Regions from separate parts of the Homo sapiens genome. Here all the other regions are linked to region 3. Evidence: promoter capture Hi-C in 16 types of primary human blood cells and fetal thymus (Javierre and others, 2016). All regions are on one chromosome and are shown on one strand. Each heading gives the region's core, a stretch centred on a gene start or on the middle of the fragment in contact. The rest is flanking DNA. Distances are from core to core; before and after follow the strand shown.

The links. The method cuts DNA at HindIII sites, captures the fragments that hold promoters and counts their contacts. A CHiCAGO score of 5 or more calls a contact.
Region 1: the fragment with the promoter of MLKL here is called in contact with a fragment that was not itself captured in region 3 in 2 of 17 cell types (M1 macrophages and M2 macrophages); the score reaches 10.6 in M1 macrophages.
Region 2: the fragment with the promoter of RFWD3 here is called in contact with a fragment that was not itself captured in region 3 in 3 of 17 cell types (M1 macrophages, M2 macrophages and erythroblasts); the score reaches 27.2 in M1 macrophages.
Region 4: the fragment with the promoter of CLEC18B here is called in contact with a fragment that was not itself captured in region 3 in 4 of 17 cell types (M1 macrophages, M2 macrophages, megakaryocytes and 1 more); the score reaches 27.8 in M1 macrophages.

The regions. Positions count from the first base shown.
Region 1 is chr16:74,699,430-74,703,205 of GRCh38, forward strand. It overlaps MLKL (mixed lineage kinase domain like pseudokinase), which reads right to left and starts at 1,433. Exons shown (of 11, transcript NM_152649.4): 1 at 1,024-1,433. RefSeq lists an enhancer at 887-1,336. The HindIII fragment of the contact is 1,546 bases long and covers 137-1,682 here.
Region 2 is chr16:74,664,584-74,668,730 of GRCh38, forward strand. It overlaps RFWD3 (ring finger and WD repeat domain 3), which reads right to left and starts at 2,294. Exons shown (of 13, transcript NM_018124.4): 1 at 2,203-2,294. It also overlaps the pseudogene TMPOP2. RefSeq lists a silencer at 1,824-1,973. The HindIII fragment of the contact is 4,771 bases long and covers 332-4,147 here.
Region 3 is chr16:70,146,397-70,150,775 of GRCh38, forward strand. PDPR (pyruvate dehydrogenase phosphatase regulatory subunit) reads left to right here. Exons shown (of 19, transcript NM_017990.5): 17 at 2,068-2,157. Among named protein-coding and RNA genes, the nearest start is that of CLEC18C, 25 kb to the right of the region's middle. The HindIII fragment of the contact is 4,530 bases long and covers 865-4,379 here.
Region 4 is chr16:74,419,627-74,423,409 of GRCh38, forward strand. CLEC18B (C-type lectin domain family 18 member B) reads right to left here and starts at 1,852. Exons shown (of 12, transcript NM_001385193.1): 1 at 1,521-1,852; 2 at 875-966. The coding sequence starts at 1,644. LOC107984827 (a long non-coding RNA gene) reads left to right here and starts at 2,494. Exons shown (of 3, transcript XR_001752253.3): 1 at 2,494-2,816. The HindIII fragment of the contact is 28,054 bases long and covers 1-3,783 here.

The DNA.
Region 1 (3,776 bases), core at 183-2,682, 4.6 Mb after region 3:
GGAAAAAGCACCCTACAATAACTTAAATTGTTTAAGGTCTTATTAAGTATATGATCTACAAGGGAAGAAAGGGAATATACATATATACACACTTAGACTGGGCAATTTGAATTTCTAGGAACTTATGATGTAGAAAAGCTTGTGTTTGTAGATAGATGGCTACCGAGATGTTCACTGCAGTGCTATTTATAATATGTAAAACAAACAGCTAAGAATATGTTCAGGCCAGCTGCAGTGGCTCACACCTGTAATCCCAGCACTTTGGGAGGGTGAGGTAGGAGGATCACCTGAGCCCAGGAGTTTGAGACCAGCCTGGGTGACAAAGCGAGACCCTGGCTCTACCAAAAAATACAAAAAAAATTTAATTGGGTGTGGTGATGTGCACCTTGTAGTCCTAGCTACTTGGGAGGATCTGGTTGGAGGATCACTTGAGCCCATGAGTTCGGAGGCTGCAGTGAGCTATGATTGTGCCACTGCGCTCCAGCCTGGGCAACAGAGGAAGACTCCATCTCTCAAAATAAATAAATAAAAAGAAAAAGGGGATTATGTTCATATGTTACGATGAGAAAACAGGTTACTAATTTTAAAAGTGAAAAATCTTTAAATGGTAATAACAATGCAAATTCACCTCTTCCCTCCAAAAAATAAAAAATAAAAATAAAATAAAATAAGTAAAGGTTATCAGGCATTTCCCTCTTCTCTCTCTCTCACTCTGTCTCTCTCTCACGCCTTCAGCCTGCAAACCTGAAGACTTCCTTTTTCTGAGAAGACATCAGGTAACTTGTTCCCGTGCCCCTGCCCTCCACGACCCCCACTGCTACTGGGCGTCTCGCTTTGGCGGAAGGTAGTGCGAGATCCGAGCAGGCAGCTCCACCATCAGAGCTGAGGAAATGAAACCAACTCGGTCCTGAGTTCCAGGAACTCGGACCGGGCCACCCTCACCCCTGGTTCTTCCCATCACCGTCCAGGAATTCGGCTGCAGCCCCTCGGCCCCGCCGCCTCCTGGGAAGACCCCATGCTCACCTTCGCGCCTCCCGAGGGGTGTGCGTCCAATCTGTCCCGTGCACAGTTCCAAAAAGCTCGCTCTTCCACCTTCTTTCCCACGACCGCCTCCTGCCCAGGCGAGAAGTTTGCAAACGCGAGGCCCGCGGGAGTTCCCCTGCGCCCCCTTTCCTGGTGCCCGCACCCTGCACTCTGCTGACTGTACCGGACGCCACACGTGGCTGGCGGCGACAAGGCGCCCCGATCCCTACCTGAGGGAAACCCCGGCCACTGCAGCTGCACTTGAGCAGGGTCCCTCCACTCAGCCACTTGGATGGCTGTTTCTGTCCAGTGCCCTCCGGAGGCCACTGCCTCAGGTCTGTGATGCCTGCAGAGAATGCTGCGACACTTCCCCCTCCGACGTGGCTCCAGCTGCCAACCACCAGGCTCACGGTGCCCTGGCTCCCTGGAGCCGCTTTCTAGGCAGCTCGGAGCCACGGCCCCTCCCTTCCTTCCTCCTGTCCTTTCCACACTCTTCCTGCCTTCCCCAAAGTCACTGGGTAACTACGCTGTACACGTCAGTACCAAGCCTTCTTTAGGGGCTGGGGATTCAGAATAGAATAAGGTCCCAGCAACTATTATAACCAGGACACAGTATGAGAAGGACTGGAAGTTTAGAGAAAAACTGAAAGTTGGAGAGAAGCTTCTGGTGTTTGCTTCTCTGTGCTGGATAATATTGGCGGGGTGGGGAGGGTACGAGGGAAGAGACACCAAAGTGGGAAAAAAGTCACTTCCTCTTCTAAGGTCATTGCAGAACATCCTGTTACAGTGTGAGTCAGGTTTTCTTAAGATTAACTACATCTTCAGCTAGAAAGTCTAAGTAGTGTTATGCATTTACTCAACAGACTATTTGCCTCTAAAAGAACAGAACTGGGAGCTGGGTGTGGTGGCTCATGCCTGTAATTCCAGCACTTTGGGAGGCGGAGGTGGCCAGATCACCTGAGGTCAGGAGTTCAAGACCATCCTGGCCAACATGGGGAAACCCTGTCTCTACTAAAAATACAAAAATTAGCCAGGCGTGGTGGTGCATGCCTGTAATCCCAGCTACTCGGGAGCCTGAGAGGGGAGAATCGCTTGAAGCCGGCCTTGGAGATTCATTTCTTCGCCTTGCTATTGTTCTTCGTCTCCTGCATCATCAGTTTTCTTCCTGTCTTAGGTGAAGAGATTGAGGTGAGGCAGGAGAATAGGGTCTGCAGGCAGGGAACATAAAGCTGATTCACGCTGACTTCTTAGAACTAAATAAAATGGACACATTTCAGCTATGACAGGAAATATTTTCTTCATTTACATATGGCGTTCACTGAGTAAGTGACTGAGCAACTTCACTTCATCTTCTTCATTTACATAGGGTGTACACCAATTAACCAATGGGAGCCTCTAGAGGGTATTTAAATCCCAGAAAATTCTGTAACGGAGTTCTTGAGCCCCTATGCTCACGCTGGCTCCCACCCTGTGGAGTGTACCTTTGTTTTCAATACATCTCTGCTTTTGTTGCCTCATTCTTTCCTTGCTTTGTGCATTTTGCCCATTTCTTTGTTCAAGATGCCAAGAACCTGGACACCTTCAACAAGTAACACAGGTGCCTGTGATTTATTGAAGGAAGACTCTTAGGAGAGTGGTGGGTATGATAGGGCAGAGGAAGAAAAAGTGAAACAAGTATGTAGTCAGTGGAGGCTCCATGGGGAGGTCTGGAATGTGAAGGTCTGGAACAAGAGGCAGCCTCCTTTCTGCCCAGGGCAATTCTTCTGGACGAGGGGGAAGCTGTGTGAGTGTTTAGCTGTCAACACTCATAGCAGCTGCAGGATGGGTATACTGATCTGCTATAAACAAAATCATACAATGTATAACCTTTTGGAAGTTTTTTTCTTTTCTTTTCTTTTTTTTTTTTTTTACTGTCCCACCATCAATGTACAAGACATTCAGTTTCTCTGCATCCTCAGCAGCATTTTATTTTGTCCCTGCCTGAATTTTTAGCTATTCTAACAGGTGAATAGTGATATATCATCATGGTTTTTTGTTTTGTTTTGTTTTGAGATAGAGTCTTACTCTGTTGCCCAGGCTGGAGTGCAGTGGCGCCATCTCAGCTCACTGCAACCTCCACCTCCTGGGTTCAAGCGATTCTCCAGCCTCAGCCTCCCAAGTAGCTGGGACTACAGGCGTGCACCACCACACCTGTCTATTTTTTGTATTTTTAGTAGAGACAGCGTTTCGCCATATTGGCCAGACTGGTCTCGAACTCCTGACCTCAGGTGATCCACCCACCTTGGCCTCCCAAAGTGCTGGGATTATAGGCATGAGCCACTGCGCCTGGTCTCATCATGGTTTTAATTGGCATTTCTTTAGTGCCTGGTGATGATGGACATGTTTTCATGTGCTTGTTTGCCATCTGTATAGCCTCATTGGTGAAATGTCTGTCCATGTCTTTTGCCCATTTTTAGTTGAATTCTTTTTAAAAAACTTGAGTTTTGAGAGTTTAAATATTCTAGATATTAATCCTTTGCCAGATAGGTGGTGTTCAAATGGTGGTGGAGTAACTGAACAAAAAAATGAACTTCACCTAAACCTCATATTCTATGCAAAAATTGCCTGAATGGATCAGAGATTTAAATGTAAAATGTAAAACAAGGAACCTTTTAGAAGAAAGCAGAGAGAACTGTGCAGAATGAAAGGACATTTCCTGTTGAGAAAATGTAAATGTTTGAAAAAAGTTTAGGGCCGGTCGCAGTGGCTCACGC
Region 2 (4,147 bases), core at 1,044-3,543, 4.5 Mb after region 3:
AAAAAATACAAAAAAATTAGCCAGCCGTGATGGTGTGCACCTGTGGTCCTAGCTACTTGGGAGGCTGAGGCAGGAGAACCCCTTGAACCCGGAGAGTGGAGGTTACATTGAGCCGAGATCACGCCACTGCACTCCAGACCGGGAGAGAGAGTAAGACTCCGTCTAAAAAAAGAAAAAAGAAAGAAATAAAATAAGTTCCTTTGTCGTGCAGGTCACATTTCAACTGCTAGAAACACACATAGGGCGGGTGACTCCCATACTGGACAGCAGAAATACAGAACACTTTTCTCGTCGCACAAAGTTCTATGGAACGGTGCAGTTCTGGAGCTGAAGCTTCCTAACCACTGTAGGCCAGTCGGAGGTGCCTAGAACGAGAGACCATGGGCTGGGCACCCCAAACCTTGAGGATGTCACACAAACGCTGTTTTTTATGTGTGCTGTGAGCGGTGCTTAAAATGTCAACCTCAGACTTGTCATCTTTGTTACTCAGGTTTCAATCAATGGCCACAACAGGCAGGACGAAAGCCCCTCAATTAAAGGTTGAGAAGAGGTGGGCGGGGGAAGTGTTCAAATCTTTGCTCTGGCCGGTGCAGAGGGTCACGCCTGTGATCCCTGGACACTGAAATGCCCAGGCGGATGGATCACTTACGCTCTGGTGTTCCAGACCAGCTTGGGCAACACAGTGAAATTCCCATCTCTACCAAAAAAGAAAAATAGAACAGGTCAGGCGCGGTGGCTCACACCTGTAATCCCAGCACTTTGGGAAGCCGAGGGCAGACCACTTGAGGTCGGAGTCCCAGAATGGCCAATATGGTGAAACCCCGTCTCCACTAAAAATACAAAAACTACCCGGGTGTGGTGGCGCATGCCTGTAATCCCAGCTACTTGGGAGGCTGAGGCAGGAGAATCGCTTGAACCCGGGAGGCAGAGGTTGCAGTGAGCCGAGATCGCACCACTGCACTCCAGCAGGGGCAACAAAGCGAGACTCTATCTCAAAAAAAGAAAGAAAAAAGAAAAATAAAACAATGAGCCGGGCGTGGTGGCGCGCACCTGTGGTCCCAGCTATTGCGGGAAGCCGAGGTGGGAGGATCCCTGGGGCCCGGGAGTTCGAGACTGCAGTGAGCTCTTCCAGCCTGGGTGCAACAGGGAGACTTTTCTTTCTTTCTTTCTTTCTTTTTTTGAGATGGAGTTTCACTCTTGTTGCCCAGGCTGGAGTGCAATGGCGTGATCTCAGCTCACTGCAACCTCGGCCTCCCGGGTTCAAGCGATTCTCCTGCCTCAGCCTCCCGAGTAGCTGGGAAATGGGGTTTCTCCATGTTGGTCAGGCTGGTCTCGAACTCCTGGCCTCAGGTGATCCGACTGCCTCGGCCTCCCAAAGTGCTGGGATTACAGGCCTGAGCCACCGCTTTTCTCTTTATAACACCTTTTTCTCTTTATAACAGGAAAAAGGGAGGAAGAGAGAGGGAGAGGGAGAGGCGGAGGGGGAAGAGGAGGGAGAGGGAGACGGGAGGGGAAGGGAGAGAGGGAAAGAAGGAAATTAAATCCCTGTTCTTTTACTACATGGGGAAAGAAAGACATAGATAGATTAGATAGACAGATTAGATAGATAGATAGATAGATAGATAGATAGATAGATAGATTGATTAGATACATAGATATTAAATCCCTGTTCTTTTACTACATGGGGAAACTTTGGGCGGGTTTCCTAAACTCGGCTCAACTTGTTCTCCTGTAAAACAGGGATAATACAAGTCTTTACTCCACAGTTTCCGTGATGAAATTAAAAATGAAGTTCTTCCATCAACTTTAAAGTGATGAAGTAATCGGCGCTCAGAGCGGGCGCAGGCAACGCCGCTGAGGAGCCCGAGGCTAGGCTCTCGGGGGAAGGGCCGGGCGACCTCCCACCCCGGCCAGGGCAGGCCCCGCAGCAGCGAACTCGGCTCCTTCAGTGATCGCCCCGAGCTCTCGCCTGCCCAGCCCCCACGCCCAGCAACCCAGATACGCGCGGGGGTTCGGGCTCCTTAGCCCCGACCACTGGCGCCGCCCCGAGGGCCCGAATCCCCTCAGGCCGCCGGGTTCCAAGCCCGCGTGCAGCCCACCTCGTGGGGTGTCTCCTGAATCCCAATCCAGGAATCAGGCGTGGGGAGGTTTATCCCGAAGCTAGAGGCCCAAGGCCTGAGGAGAAGCAACACCCCTCCTCACCTGAAACCAGCAGGCCGCGGCCGGGCTCGCGAGCCCGCCGAAGACTCGGTAGTTACCTCGGCCGCACTCCGAATGCACCTACGCCAACTGCCACTTCCGGAGCCGCTCAAGCTCCCGCCAGAGCCGCCGGCAGGCATGCTCCTATTGGACAGAAGCCCTACGCTGTGGCCAATACCCACTCTTCTTCTTCAATGGGTCCCCCGATAGCTGAAGCAGCGGTGCTCTCATTGGCTGGTAGTTCGTCCTGACGAGGCGGGACCGCGCTTGAGGAAGCCTCCTACAATTGGCAGGAATCTACGTCCGTCACCTTGCACCCGCCCCGGAAAAAATGGGAGGTTTTTTTGTTTTTTTTTTGTTTGGTTTTTTTTTTTTTTTTTAGCGCGTTTTATTTGAACTTTCTGGCGGGAGAAAGTTATATGATTTCTCGGTCCATTTTGGAATGGGGATGATGATATTAAAACTGACTCCTGCTGCTTATCCCTAACGCTTTAGTGAAGGAGTTATCTGTATCCAAAGGATAGCAGCTAATCGAATAATTTCAAAATATTTCAATATTTTGAATTTCGGAGCCTGTAAAGAGGCGTAGGACAGTCCAGTTCATATGTATCCTCTCATGGGGTTGAAGAGCTCACGCAAAATACTTTGCCTACATAATCTCTTCAATCTCAAACCGCTGCAAGGGATCTGAGCTACTGAACAGTCTCAAATCACTTGTTAGGGCCGCCGCTCGCCGCCAGCGCCAAAAGAAAGGGGCCCCCGGAATTCTCCAGCTACGTACGAGGAGCGCGAGCCCACAGCCGTCTCGGCTCCGAGCCCGCCGCCGGCAGGAAAGCCACAAAGAAAACTGATAAACCCAGACAAGATGATAAAGACGATCTAGATGTAACAGAACTCACTAATGAAGATCCTTTGGATCAGCTTGTGAAATACGGAGTGAATTGTGGTCCTATTGTGGGAACAACCAGGAAGCTGTATGAGAAATAGCTTTTGAAACTGAGGGAGCAAGGAACAGAATCAAGATCGTCTCCTTCAGCAACAATTTCTTCTTCAGCAGAAAATACAAGGCAGAATGGAAGTAATGATTCTGACAGATATGGTGAAAATGAAGAAGACTCTAAATTGGGCTCAAGTTTGAGAAGAGAGAACCGCTAAACAGGGGAGTAAAGACTCCAGTAACCCTCAAGCAAAGAAGAGTTGAGCACAAGGAGAGCTATTCTCAAGCTGGAATAACTGGGACTGAATGGACAAGTGGATCTTCAAAAGGCGGACCTCTGCAGGCATTATTAACTAGGGAATCTACAAGAGGGTCAAGAAGAACTCCAAGCAAAAGGGTGCACGCTTCAGAATATTTTCGTATAGATGGAGCAGTAATTTCAGCGAGTACTCCCATAGCTGAAACTATAATTGCTTCAAACAACGAATCCTTAATTGTCAATAGGGTGACTGGAAATTTCAAGCATGCATTTCCTATTCTGCCAGTCACTGAATTCTCAGACATACCCAGAAGAACACCAAAGAAACCATTGACAAGAGCTGAAGTGGGAGAAAAAAAACACAGGAAAGAAGAGTAGAAAGGGATATTCTTAAGGAAATGTTCCCCTATGAAGCAACTACACCAACAAGAATTAGTGCTAGTTGCCGCAGAACAATCAAAGGAGCTGCAGGCCGGCCATTAGAACTCAGTGATTTGAGGATGGAGGAGTCGTTTTCATCTACATATGTTCCTAAGTATGTTCCCTTGGCAGACGTCAAGTGAGAAAATACAAAAAAAAGGGACGCTCCATTCCTGTATGGATAAAAATTTTGCTGTTTGTTGTTGTGGCAGTTTTTTTGTGTGTGTTTGGTCTATCAAGCTATGGAAACCAACCATGTAAATCCCTTCTCTAATATTCTTCCTGATGACTCTAGAAAACCCAACTGAATGGTATCTCTTTGGCACATTCAA
Region 3 (4,379 bases), core at 1,880-4,379:
TCACCCAAAGTCAGGAGTTTGAGACCAGCCTGGCCAACATGGTGAGACCCTGTCTCTGTTAAAAATACAAAAATTAGCTGGGTATGGTCTCACGCACCTATAATCCCAGCTACTTGGGAGGCTGAGGCACAGGAATCGCTTGAACTCTGGAGGCAGAGGTCGCAGTGAGCCGAGAACACGCCACTGCACTCCACCTGGGTGACAGAGTGAGACTCTGTCTCAAATAAAAGAGTGTGCTGGCCAGGTGCAGTGGCTCACGCCTATAATCCCAGCACTTTGGGATTACATCTTATATTTATAAATAAATATAAAAATACAAAAATTAGCCGGGTGTGGTGGCGCATGCCTGTGGTCCCAGCTACTCGGGAGGCTGAGGCAGGAGAATGACTTGAACCTGGGAGGCAGATGTTGCAGTGAGCCGAGATTGCGCCATTGCACTCCAGGCTGGCAACAGAGCAAGACTGTCTCAAAAAAAAAAAAAAAAATGTGCTGCCCTTCATTAGCAAAGAAGTGACTAAGTATATTTATTTATTTATTTATTTATTTATTTATTTTGAGACAGAGTTTCACTCTTGTTGCACAGGCTGGCGTGCAATGGTGCGATCTCGGCTCACTGCAACCTCCACTTCCCGGGTTCAGGCGATTCTCCTGTTTCAGCCTCCCGAGTAGCTGGGATTACAAGCGCCCGCCACCATGCCCAGCTAACTTTTTGTATTTTTAGTAGAGACAGGGTTTCACCATGTTTGCCAGGCTGGTCTTGAACTCCTGACCTCAGGTGAACCACCCACCTCAGCCTCCCAAAGTGCTGGGATTACAGGTGTGAGCCACTGCGCCCGGCCTTATTTGTTTATTTTTTACACTCCAAGCTTGCTTTATTTAATAAGCATTAGGATATCTTTGAAGTGGATTTAGCTTCTCTAAATGTAAAGTCTTTATGCTTTTTGGTTTCTGTAGCACTGGATTAAAATTTGAAGTTACAGGATTATGACACACACAAAAATGCCTTTCGAAGTTAGGTCCCTTCTCTCCATGCAGTGTGGCCTCTTTTCTGTACACAGAGTAACTTCTGTGTCTGTGGCATCTTCAGGGAAGAAATGGCGTAGGTGAATCTCTGAACTTCCTACATAATTTTCTTTCCTATAAGTGGCAACCACAGCTGAGTGAAACAAACTGTAACCGAATGAAAGCAATGACAACGGAATCCTCCCCAGGAAGCTGCTGATTAGAGAGGGCCAAACGGACAGACATCTTGGCCACCTGTAACGAGCAACTTCCAGGTGGTTACTGATGGAGACTCTTTGAAGTTCACCCAAAGTGGGATCCACCTACAAATTGTTTCACAGTTTTCCTTCTTCTCCGAGGCAAAGTGAAAGCAACAGAAAACTCTCCACTGTTAGCTATCAGTGGACCCCTCCCAGCGTTTGCTCTGCTGCTTGGAGGAGTGACCCATACGCTCAACACCTGGCGAGTGCTGCATCCTGTCAGCCTCCTGTGGAAGCGGTTCACTTCGGTGCTGTCCAGGACTTTCCACTTTCCTTTATAGGAACGGTGATTGCGTCAGTGGCCGCTGTTAGGGAACTGAGCTGCTATGTAACGTGTTCTGAGAATCAGAAGCCCATCTTTGACCCCAGGATAGCAGATTAATTATGTCTGTGGGCATCGGGCATCATCTTTTGTATGGCAGGCGGCCAGGGTTTGTCTGCTGATTCCCCCAGAGAAGACACTCGCCTTGTCCTCATTGTGCCTGCTACCCTCGACTAACACAAGGACCTGGCAAAGAGGAATATTTTGTGCTTGTCAAGGACTTTCCTCCACTCTCTACCATCAGCTTGGCTAAAACTCCTGAGATGGTAACAGTAGCAAGCAGAGATGTCACATAGGCAGTGCTCCATTCTCTGTGCCTCAGGACCTGGAAGTTAACCACTTTCGGGATGAAATTCTTGCCTTGACGTCTGTCTCCCTCAACAGTAAACAGAGGGTGCAGCACTAATGAAAGGTTTCCCCAGGCGTCCCTCCCTTGACAAGTAATGTGAGTGCCCAGGCTGACTGCTGCCTTTGTCCCTGCAGGAGATGAGTGTGGGCTATGCAAATGGGATCCGGGTGATGAGCATGACGCACACAGGAGAGCCAGGATTCATGCTCTACATCCCCATAGAGGTGAGAGGGCACCCTTCCCTTCCCTTCCCTTCACTTCCCTTCCCTTCCCTTCCCTTCCCTTCCCACAACCACTGTGGGGTGCCAGTGCTCCCAGCAGCGCGTTCACCAGCACTGGCAGGTTTGGAGAGCTGTATCTGATTGGGCCTTGGGAGCTGAGGTAGGCTGCATTGAAGAGATTTGACCATTTTTAACTAAGTTATATAAGTTTTTTTGAATAGGTGATACATTTAAAAAGTATTTGGCGCCGTCTGATCTGTTCTCACCAACTGTCACCAATAATATTAGTATTACTTTTATATGTCATTTCAGATTTGTATGCATATTGCAAGCAAATTCATAATTAATTTTTTTTTTTTTTTGAGACAGGGTCTCACTCTTTTGCCCAGGGTGGAGTGCAATGGCATGACCGTGGCTCACTGCAGCCTCGACCTCTTGGGCTCAAGCCACCCTCCCACCTCCGCCTCCCGAGTAGCTGGGACTGTAGGCATGTGCCACCATGCCTGGCTAATTTTTGTATTTTTTTGTAGAGACAGGTTTTGCCATGTCGCTCAAGCTGGTCTCAAACTCCTGACCTCAGGTGATACACCCACCTTGTCCTCCCAAAGTGCTGGGATTATAGGTGTGAGCCACCATACCCAGCCAAGCCCCCTTTTTAAAAACAGAAATGGAAGCATACTGCTATTCTTCATCCTGTTTTTTTTTTTTTCACTTCACAATTTTTTTTTTAATTGAGGCAGAGTCTCACTCTGTCACCTAGGGTGGAATGTAGTGGCATAATCTCAGTTCACTGCAACCTTCGCCTCCCAGGTTCAAGTGATTGTCCTGCTTCAGCCTCCCGAGTAGCTGGGATTACAGGTGCACGCCACCACGCCTGGCTAATTTTTGTATTTTTAGTACAGACGGGGCTTCACCATGTTGCCCAGGCTTGTTTCCAACTCCTGACCTCAAGTGGTCCACACACCTCAGCCTCCCAAAGTGCTGGGATTACAGGCATGAGCTACCATGCCCGGCCTCACTTCACAATTTCTCTTAGAGCTCTTTCTTTGTTGGTACCTAAAGCAAAAGAGCTTCCTTGTTCTTTTTTTCTTTATTTTTTAACAGTGGCGTAGCATTCCATTGTGGTACATCATTCCGATACTAATAGACATTTATGTTATTTCTAGTCTTTTGCTGTTATAAAAAGGTCTGCAGGCTGAGTTCAGTCTAATCATATGCAAATAGTAATAGTTTCTTCCTTCTCCAGAACCTTTTTTTTGAGACGGAGTCTCACTCTGTCGCCCAGGCTGGAGTGCAGTGGCGCAATCTCGGCTCACTGCAAGCTCCGCCTCCCGGGTTCACGCCATTCTCCTGCCTCAGCCTCCTGAGTAGCTGGGACTACAGGCGCCTGCCACCACGCCCGGCTAATTTTTTGTATTTTTCATAGAGACGGGGTTTCACCGGGTTAACCAGAATGGTCTCGATCTCCTACCTCGTGATCTGCCAGCCTTGGCCTCCCAAAGTGCTGGGATTAGAAGCGTGAGCCACCGCACCCGGCCGGCTTTTTTTTTTTTTTTTCTTTTTTTTTTTTGAGATGAAGTCTCACACTTGTCCCCCAGGCTGGAGTGCGATGACATGATCTAGGCTCACCGCAACCTCTGCCTCCCGGGTTCAAGTGATTCTCCTGCCTCAGCCTCCCGAGTAGCTGGGATTACAGGCGCCTGCCACCACACCCGACTAATTTTTGTATTTTTAGTAGAGACAGGATTTCACCATGTTGGCCAGCTTGGTCTCGAACTCCTGACCTTAGGTGATCCACCCACCTCGGCCTCCCAAAGTGCTGGAATTACAGGCGTGAGCCACCGCACCCGGGCCCATAGTCTTTCTTCCTATAATTTCCTTCCTTTGTTCTATTGTGACAGGTAGCAATCAATGATTGTAGGCATGCTTGTTTTCTTCTTGATGTTAGTCATACTACTTGTAGTGATAGGTTTTCTCTTAATTTTTTTTTTTTTTGTGAGACAGGGCATTGCTCTGTCACCCAGGCTGGCTTACTGCAGCTTGACCTCCGAGGCTGAAGTGATCCCCCTGCCTCAGCCTCCTGAATAGCTGGGACTACAAGCATGTGCCAACATCCCCAGCTAATTTTTTAATTTTATTTTTGTAGAGGCAGGGTCTTGCTATGTTGCCTAGGCTGGTCTCAGACTCCTGGACTCTAGTGATCCTCTCACGTCAGCCTCCCAAAG
Region 4 (3,783 bases), core at 602-3,101, 4.3 Mb after region 3:
GGAGCACCCCTGGTTGCCCAGGGTCTGAGCCTGAGGAGAGGCAGAGCCACTCAGGGCTGGGAATGGGGGAGAAGCGACCCCCCGCATTTAGCCACCCCACCCCCACCTCCTGGGAAACTGACCCTAGAGTGTTCAAGGTCGCCACTGTGGCCACCTGCCTTGGAGGAGTTCATGGGAAGCAGCCATGGGGAACCCTCCCGCCCCCACCACCCTGCCCTGGCTCCCTGGCCTGCTAACATGGGCTGGGGCTGCTGGGGTCCCAGACAATGGAGGGCAGCGTTTCTGAGCCTCCAGATGACAGTCCCAACCCCGCAGCCCCAGCCGGGCTGGTGGGGAACTCTATACCCCCGACCCCTGGCCCCTGCTGAAAATGTGGAAAATGTGGACGAGTGAGTGAGCAGAGAACATGGGCAAGGCCCGTCCTAGTGGCTCAGATAAGCTCAGGAGGAGGCGCTGGGTCCTTGCCGCACAGAAGCCCCTCCCCAGCCCAGCACGACCTTCTCCCTCCCTGGCCCGGCCGCCCATCCTGCAGGGCTCCTCGTGAAGCTCCCCTTCCCTGGAGGAGGGGATCCGGCTCCTCCTGTGGCTCCTGGTCTCTGTGGCAACAAGATGCCAGGGAAGGCCCAAGGTCCTGCCCTTCAGGCGAGTGGGAGCCAAGGGGCCCGACCTCCTGAACTGAGGGTGGGGGGTTAAGAAACTGCAGAGACCCCCAGCAACCAGGGCCTCCGTCCCTCAGGGGCAAGGTGGCTGGCTGTGCCTGCCCACCCTGGTCAAGTGGAAGGGCACCTGGACAGGCGTGGCCTCCTGAGCCGCCCTCTGGGGTCCGCGCCTCCGGCCACCCCCCTGGCAGAGCCCAGCTGGGTCGGGTACTCACCAGCCTCCGCATGTCAGCCGCAGGGGGCTGGACCCAGCTGCGCAGGCGGTTGTGCAGGGAGAGGAGCAAGAAACTCTCCTTCCTGTTCAGGGCTGGGGTGGGGAGAGAAGGTCAGGCAGCCCGAGGATGGGGGGACCTGAACCCAACACACGGCAGAATAAGCATGTGTCCCTGCCCTTGGAAAACAAGATGGGAGAGGAGTGTGGTGGGTGCAGGGGACGTGGGGCATAGCAATGGAGCGAGGCTGAGAGAGAGACCAGGTACAGCAGGCGTGGGCTGAGTGCTGGGGTTGGGGTGGCGGGAGGGAACAGCGGTGCGGGCTGGGTGTAGGGGCCAGCCCTGGCTCCCGCAGGCCCCTGTCTGGGGCTCCTCCGGGCCACGGATTTCTCCAGGCCCCAGCCACAGCGCTCCTCGGCGTTCCTCCTTGACCCCAGCCCTGGTCCTCCTTCCTCCTCCTTCCTCCTCCTTCCTCCCCAGTCCAGCATCCACCCCTCACCGCCCCCGGGCTGTCCCAGGGCTTCCTCATTAAACCACCCGCACGGCCTGGGGCTCAGGCCTGGGACCGGGCTTCCAGAAGTCTCCTAGCACCCACTCCTCAGAGCTCATAATGGTGCCTCCACCTACCTCCTCACCAGGTGTCCCTTACCTCCGGCCATCGGAGCCTGCTCCTGCAGCTGGGGTGGCCACACCTCTGCCCAGGTGGTGCCAAGGAGGGCCAGGAGCACAGCCAGGAGATGCCCCCGGCCAGGGGAGGTCTCTGGATGCAGCATGGGTCTGTTGGGCCCGTCAGGCGCTCCGTGCACAGCCTGGCTCAGCCACCCGGCTTGTTTCTCAGGCTGGATGGAGCTATTCACAATCTCCAGGAGTCAGGCTGGGCTGGTGGACAAAAGAGGGGGGCTGGTGAACAAAAGAAGGAGGCTGGTGAGTGAGTAATCAGTGTGTCCAGACAGCCTCCTGTTGGCGCTGGCATGAAAAGAGACAACTCCCGGGGATGCCTGCCTGCTCCGGCCTCGGCCTGGCCAGCCCGCCCCCGACAGCAGGCAGAGTGGCGTGCACTGCCCCGCGGCCCCTGCTAATCATTGTGGGATTATTAGCACCCTTGGGGAGCCCCCAGAGACCCCGCTGATTGGCCTGGGGACATTCCGGTGCTGCAGATTAGTGACCGATGGCCGTGTCCTGGCTGGGACAGTGTCCTCCGAGCCCACTGATGGCTTCCGCTCCCCAGCCCCGGGCCCTGGGAGGAGGACCTCGGCTATGGTCCTTCTGGTGAGCAGGAACTGGGCAAGACCCCAGGGGAGTTCTTTCCTTTCTTGGGAAGCTCGTCCCAACCCCCCAGCCATGAATTAAACATAGGCAAGAGGTAACCGCACACCAGAGGGGTGCAATCTGTGGGCTCAAAGGGGGGTGGGCTGAGGCCGCACCTGCACGAGGAAAAGGGTGCCTTAGGAAAGTCTGTCTGGGCAGGGTCGGGGGCTGGGCCCAGCCCCGGTGCCCACCACCCTCACCCACGTGACTACAGGCCAGGGGGGGAGTGAGGCAGGAGGAGTCAAAGCAGGCGGGGACCAGAGCACGTGATGCCCTGGGCTGACTCCAGTCCTGCTGGGATCACGTCCGCCTCTAGAAAAACAGGCGGCGTAGCAGGTGGGCAGCACGTTGCCATGATGTGCCGTGGCCCGGCCGTGGCTGGCGTGATCCCACCAGAGTGAGCTGGAGCAGATCTGCACCATGGGCCAAGTTTCTCAGAAAATACATGGCTTCCTGCGGGCTGCAGCCTAATGCCCACGTTCCTCTCGGGGCAGACCGAAGGTTATTCAACCAGGGCAAAGGACAGCCTTGCAAACCAACTACGTCCTCCTTCTGGAGTTTGTGTGACCCCTGGCCCCTGAGCCCACACCCTCTCGGAGCGGGGTTCCAACTCCGTGGAAGCTCTGCTGAGATGCAGGTAGGGTTGGCTTTCCTGGGGAAACACCAGTGGAATGTGGCTATCGTCATGGGTGCCAGGGATGGGGATGAGGCCAGGCATACAGGCCATGAAGGCGGTCTGGAACTGCATGTCCCCCACAATACCTAGGGGCTCAGGAGTTTCTTCTCCCTCAAACAGAAACCCAGCACCCTCAGGGTCACTGCGTGTGGGTCCTAGCAATGCTTAATAGCTACCTGTTTTTTGATGTATTTTTATTTTTATTTTTTAGACAGTTTCATTCTGCCACTCAGGTTGGAGTGTTATAATCTCAGCTCACTGCAGCCTTGACCTCTTGGGCCCAAGTGATCCTTCCACCTCAGCCTCCCAAGTAGCTGGGACCAGGTGTGTGCCACCATGCCTGGCTAATTATTATTATTTTTTTTGGTAGAGACAGGATTTCATCGTCTTGCCCAGGCTGGTCTCCAACTCCTGGGCTCAAGGGATCTTCCCACCTTGGCCTCCCAAAGTGCTGGGGTTGCAGGCATGAGCCACCACACCTGGCCGAGCCACCTGTGTTTATGGAGCTCACAAAGCCTGTTTGCATGTGTGAGTTCAAGTTATTGCCACAAGAACCTGGTGCAGTAGCAGATGGGATGCCCGTCGTGTAGATGAGGAAACGGGCTTAGTGTGTCTAAGGGGCTTGTCCAAGGTCACTCAGCGAGTGCATGGAGCATCCCAGCTAATCCAAGGTCTCTGCCTTCCCATTCCCAACGCTTTAATTCACATCCTGATCTTTCCCAGTGCAGTTTCCACAGCTCTGCTATGCCGGGTGATAAAAGACCCACTTCCTACAATTGGGCTTCCATGGCAAACACGGCCAGTTGACCCATATAGTATGATGCCAGGCACTTGGGACAGGCGGGAGAAAAAGATATTTTGGGGATTAGGGTGGAGCAACTTTTGAAGGGTCCCATGGCCCTGGCTCACTGCAAGAAGAGTCCCAGGC